Linked DNA regions of Homo sapiens: region 1 is linked to region 2. The links are contacts of gene promoters, found by promoter capture Hi-C in human tissues and cell types (Jung and others, 2019). All regions are on one chromosome and are shown on one strand. Each heading gives the region's core, a stretch centred on a gene start or on the middle of the fragment in contact. The rest is flanking DNA. Distances are from core to core; before and after follow the strand shown. Region 1 overlaps TMEM229B (transmembrane protein 229B). Region 2 holds the start of PLEKHH1 (pleckstrin homology, MyTH4 and FERM domain containing H1).

Evidence for each region. Contacts are between HindIII fragments. The study calls those that stand out against the background at their distance.
Region 1: a fragment that was not itself captured here is called in contact with the fragment with the promoter of PLEKHH1 in region 2 in 1 of the 25 tissues and cell types used here (spleen).

The regions. Positions count from the first base shown.
Region 1 is chr14:67,485,996-67,488,695 of GRCh38, forward strand. TMEM229B (transmembrane protein 229B) reads right to left here. Exons shown (of 3, transcript NM_001348543.2): 1 at 2,513-2,700; 2 at 1,005-1,177. It also overlaps a transcript of GPHN not described here. Among named protein-coding and RNA genes, the nearest start is that of TMEM229B, 1.4 kb to the right of the region's middle. RefSeq lists enhancers at 2,068-2,137, 2,301-2,700, 2,438-2,700. The HindIII fragment of the contact is 6,771 bases long and covers 1-2,700 here.
Region 2 is chr14:67,531,984-67,534,683 of GRCh38, forward strand. It overlaps PLEKHH1 (pleckstrin homology, MyTH4 and FERM domain containing H1), which reads left to right and starts at 1,307. Exons shown (of 29, transcript NM_020715.3): 1 at 1,307-1,415. It also overlaps a transcript of GPHN not described here and a transcript of TMEM229B not described here. RefSeq lists a silencer at 931-1,400. The HindIII fragment of the contact is 40,466 bases long and covers 1-2,700 here.

The DNA of each region.
Region 1 (2,700 bases), core at 169-2,668, 46 kb before region 2:
GCTTCTGGGCAGAGTCCAGTCCCAGGTGATGCATGGTCCTCACTGCACAGATCTGAAGCCTGACGGCCAAAGTAGATGCTGTTTCCCAGGTGTGAGTGCTCGCTTCACTCACGCCAGACAATCTGAATGATATGGTTTGGCTGTGTCCTCACCCAAATCTCATCTTGAATTTCCACCATGTTGTGGGAGGAACTGGGTGGGAGGTAATTGAATCATGGGGCCAGGTCTTTCTCATGCTGTTCTTGTGATAGTGAATAAATCTCATGAGATCTGATGGGTTTTTGTTTTGTTTTGTTTTGAGACAGAGTCTTGCTCTGTTGCCAGGCTGGGGTGCAATGGCACGATCTTGGCTCACTGCAACCTCTGCCTCCCAGGTTCAAGCGATTCTCCTGCCTCAGCCTCCTGAATAGCTGGGACCACAGGTGCATGCCACAATGCCCAGCTAATTTTTGTATTTTTAGTACAGATGGGGTTTCACCATGTTGGCCAGGATGGTCTCAATCTGTTGACCTTGCGATCCACCCACCTCGGCCTCCCAAAGTGCTGGGATTACAGGCGTGAGCCACAGTGCCCGGCTGATCTGATGGTTTTATAAGGGAGAGTTTCCCTGCACAAGCTCTCTTTCTGCTTGCTACCAACCTTGTAATATGTGACTTGCTTCCCCTTGCCTTCCACCATGATTGTGAGGCTTCCCCAGACACGTGGAATTAACCCTCTTTTTCTGTATACATTTTCCACTCTTACGTATGTCTTTATCAGCAGCACGAAAACAAACTAATACACTGGGTCTGGCCTGGATTTTAGAGGCCATGTGGCCATAAGACGGCTCCCGCATGTGATGGCCCAATATTGCTTGACATTCCCCTCCCATTGCCCTGTGACAGGACCTTGGATGGGGAACAGACTCAGAACTAGAACCTCCAGACTCGTGCCCATGCTGATGAGGTGCCGAGCAGGCAGGATCGCTGGGCTGGTGATCCCCTGGGTGCTTGTAACATACTCACTTATCACACCCTTGAGTGTGCAGCTCACAACAGACATCAGGATCACTGTCCAGGAGTGTCCTGGGTTAACCTTTGTTGGCTGGGCCTCAGTGCCATTCTCAGCAACGTAGGCAAGCATCAGCCCTAGGGCTCAGCTGATCCTTGGCTGGGGGGCTGGCAGCTTCCATGTGTCCCTGGGAATAAAAGAGGAGGCTTTTATTAGCTTAAACTGCCCCCAGCAGATCCAAGAAAAACATTGCAAGGGCCTGGGCTCTGGGCTCAGCACCAGACACTCATCCCACCCTGGCCACCAGGGCCCCTTCCCGGAACCTACCCCCTCCTCTTTGCATCCAGTTTGCTCAGGTCTGATTAATCCAGCCACAAAAGTCTGGGATGGTCCTGGACAATCCACATGTCCAGGGTTAGGACTTAGGGCTTCTTGCCTAAATGTGTGAACACTTGTGAATCTGAGAGGGGATATAATTTTAGAATCCAGCTCCATTCTCATTCAGCTTCAAATTACATTCTCACCTTCACCCTGTAGTGGGTACATCTGTTCTCAAGGGCGGTCAGAACCTCATGGAAGGCAGACAATGTAGGACATTCGTTTCAGCACTTTGAAAGCAGAGAACAACCACTCGTGCAGAAAAACAAAATGTGTGCTAAACCTTTCTACGTACTATTCTACCTCTCTAATATTTATTCATCTCATTTTATTATTTCACCATTATTATGGTTGAGGCCCTTCCTATGAACATCAGTAACCAGCTACAAGCTAATACAAATCTTACTTTATAATGCCCTTTGCCATGTACTTTAAAAAAAAAAATCAAGTAGAGACGGGTCTTGCTATGTTGACCAGGCTGGTCTCAAGCTCTTGGCCAACCCTCCCACCTCAGCCTCCCAAAGTGCTAGGATTATAGGCGTGAGCCACTGTGCCTGGCCAGCCATGTACAGCCATGTTTTTACTACTATCCCTAAGACTTGACTATTTAATGGAGATTCCAACATTTTTTGTTTTAATATGAAAGTGCTAAAGCTTCCCTGAAAACCCCCTGGATACAACACCATCTGCATATGCCCAAGGACAGCACTCAGGCCCAGCATGGCCCTCTGGGACAGCCCAGCCACTCAGAAGCTGAGAACAGTATGTGGCTGGGGGTGGGAGCTGGCACTCCCCTGTGGATGACCAGGCAGGATGGACCAGAGGTGCTGGTCTGTGCTGATGCCCATGTCCACCTTCCCCACTCCCCTCTGACCACCAGGGTCTCTGAGTAGAGGCCGCTTGGGCCCTTGCTCAAGCTGACAACCTGTGAGGCAGCCAGGCAGCCGAGGAGAAGTGAAAGGGCAGGAGTGGGGGAACTGAAACTCACTGTATGGTGTGGTTTTGGGGGGTGCCCCCCTGGGTCTCCCCCCGGGGCCTCTGCACTGAGAGCATCACAGTGGGCTGCTGTGCTCAGCCTTGCCTCCCCCTCCCCAGCTCCTTCACAAACGGGACCCTCCAACCCTCCCTGATCTGTCCATCTTACCGGCTTCTTCCAGCCTGCCGGATGGCGGACAGGGGTCACCTTGACACGTACCTATCACCTTGAGGAAAAGGTTTTAACGGAGCATGTCCGAACCCTCTGGGACTCTCTCTCCACCAGCACCACAAGGACCATGTGCCTGGGGAGTTCAATCCCACCTGTGGAGACTTCTCCCCACCCTAGGCCCTCAG
Region 2 (2,700 bases), core at 57-2,556:
GGCTTCCTTATGCAACTTCTGGAATGTTGAAGTGGATAGCCTGAGCATTGTCCCACAAAATGGGGCTAATCTATCCCAATCCCCACGAGCTATAAAGCTGTTTGCAAGTTCAGCCATTGAAGTCCCATTGGCCCAGTTAAATTCTCACGTTTGGCCTCCTGCACTACCAGCTTTCCTTAGTGTCTGGGCTCTCAAAACTTCTACGTGAGAATGGCCTGGGGTACTTTAGTTAGAGATTCAGATTCAAACCCAGGGTGGGGGTGTTCTTCATGGTGCCTGGGATGAGTCTTCCAAGGACCATTTGGAGAAACAGGCGCTGATGGTATTTTGCTTCTGTTCAGTCCTTCACTGACAGAGAGCCTGCAGGGTTGAGGAAGAAGGCTCTGTTTTGAAGTGTGGATCCCTCCCTGCAATGGTCTCTATTTGCATCTTCTTTACTCCAGGCTCACCTAGCCAAATGTTGAGTTTTCCAACCCCTCTGGGTATGAGATTGCTTTGGGCGATCTGAGATCTGCAAATGTCTGAGAACGAGGAGCACATGGGCACGCTGATGACTGCCCTGCAAACTGCCTGGCAGCCAGGGTCCTCCTGGGCCCTCCTTTAAAATAACATATACATAAGCCGGCCTGGAGGCCCAGGCGGGAAGATCACTTGAGCTCCGGAGTTCGAGTCCAGCCTGGGCAACATAGCGAGACCAGAAAATAAGCAAGTAAGTTACTCTCTGGGCTGTCGTAACTTATTTTTTCTTTTTCTCCTGCAAATTGCAACTCAGAACATTTGGTCTGCCAGACTGAAATATGGACTTCTGTTCCAAATATCCAGACGTTACAGTTCCCACAGGTGGCCAGGAGAATGCTGGAACCTTTGGCGGAGACGGTCTGGTCTTGTCCCGCAGCCCGCGAGGGTCCCCCGCTATTTGGGGTCAAGCAGATCCCCGGGGCGCTCTGGCCACCCCTTGCGGCAGCTGGTGCGGCCTCCTCGGAGAGCTCCGGGCCGGCGCCCGGGACACCCCGCCGCCCTCCCTGCCGCCCCAGGGACGAGCCCAGCGGTGCGGAGAAGTGGGAGGCTGGAGCCTGCTGAGGTCATTTCCTGTGCCTCTCCGCGAGCTGCCTGGAGAGCTGAGCCCAGCGCTCTGCCTTTAAGGAGCGGGCGGGGAGCCGAGGGGAGGAGGGCGCCCGGCGGAGCGTTGAATGGGGCGCAGCAAGGCTCGGCCGGGCTTTGTGCAGCGAGCCCGCGGGCACCCCTCCCGCTCCAGCCTCGCCCCGCCCCGCAGCCCACGACCCCTGCTGCCGGGGAGGGGAGAACCGGCGGCAGCCCGGGACTCCGGCGAGAGCGACGCAAGGTCGGCTGCGGCGGCGGCCCGAGGGCGCCCGTGTGCCCAGTGCGCGGCGGGGACGGCCGCGAGCTCGCTGGAGGTGAGCGACCCGCGCTCCCGCCGCTGTGGTGGGCTGGGGCTGCGCCGCGGCGGAGGGCGTCAGGCTGCGCGCGGGGGACGGCCCCTCGGGCCCAGAGGACGATCCGGAGCAGGTGCCTCCCTACCTGGAAGCGAGCTCCCAGCGGCGGGGAGCGCTGGAGCGCGGGTCTGGCTTGGGAAGCCGGGCGCCCCAGGGGACTCGCGCCGCGAGGCCAGGAGGAGCCTCCCCCGGGAGTACCTGGACTTGGGGATCGGTCAGATCCAGCCGCTCCTGGGAAGGGCCCTCGGAGCGGACGTGCAGGCTGCCACCTTGCTATCGGTGCTCGCTCCCTTTCACCCCTTCCCGCACCCCTCCCCATCTCACCTCAGGTTATTTCTTCTGTGATTTCTGAGTGTTGTCTTTGGGACCCTATGGCTCAGGCTCGACTCCTAGGAGCAGGTCATTCAAGCAGAAAAGAAAACAGGTTGGGCGCCGAATGACACAGAGCATTGTGTCCTAGGAGTCTTAGCGAGGACTCGGTCACCAGGAACCAGGGGCCTTAGTGGGGGTGGCAGAGGCGGTGAAGAGCCTCATCTGGAAGGAAACTCCTCTCCTTGTGGGATTTCTGCTTGCCAGGATATCTCCTCCATAGCTTTTACTATGAATCCACCTCATAAAACTCTTCCAAGACAGAGCCTTGGTTCAGGTAAAACACTTGAAAGACCATTTAAAAAATTCAGTGGGAGAATTATCAGTTCCTTCATCAAACTGTTTGGACTGTCTTCTATGTGACAGACACTGTGTATAGGGCTAGTACCATCACTGAACGCTTTATAGAACATCGGTATTAGTGTTTCTGCATATTATTGGCCCCATTTTTCCAAAGGAGGAAGCTGGGACTCTGAAAAGTTGTGATTTAGGCCAGTTGCAGTGGCTTATGCCTGTAATCCCAGCACTTTGGGAAGCCAAGGCAGGAGGAGAGCTTGATGCCAGGAGTTCAAGACCAGCCTGGGCAACATAGGGAGACCCTGTGTCTACAAATAAATAAAAATTTAAAAATTAGCTGGGTGTGGTGGTGTGGGCCTGTAGTCCCAGCTAACTTGGGAGGCTGATGATCCTGTCTGTTAAAAAAAAAATTGTTGTGATATGCCCATGGTCACATAGCTAAAAAGTGGAAGAGCCATAACTGAAACCCAAGCCTCCTAAATTCCTAACGTATGGTTCAGTCCACTTCTACCACCTTCCCATAGACTGCTGAGGGGGCCTGCTCAGAGTTGGGCAATTGTGGGGTGCAGCCTGTGGCCCC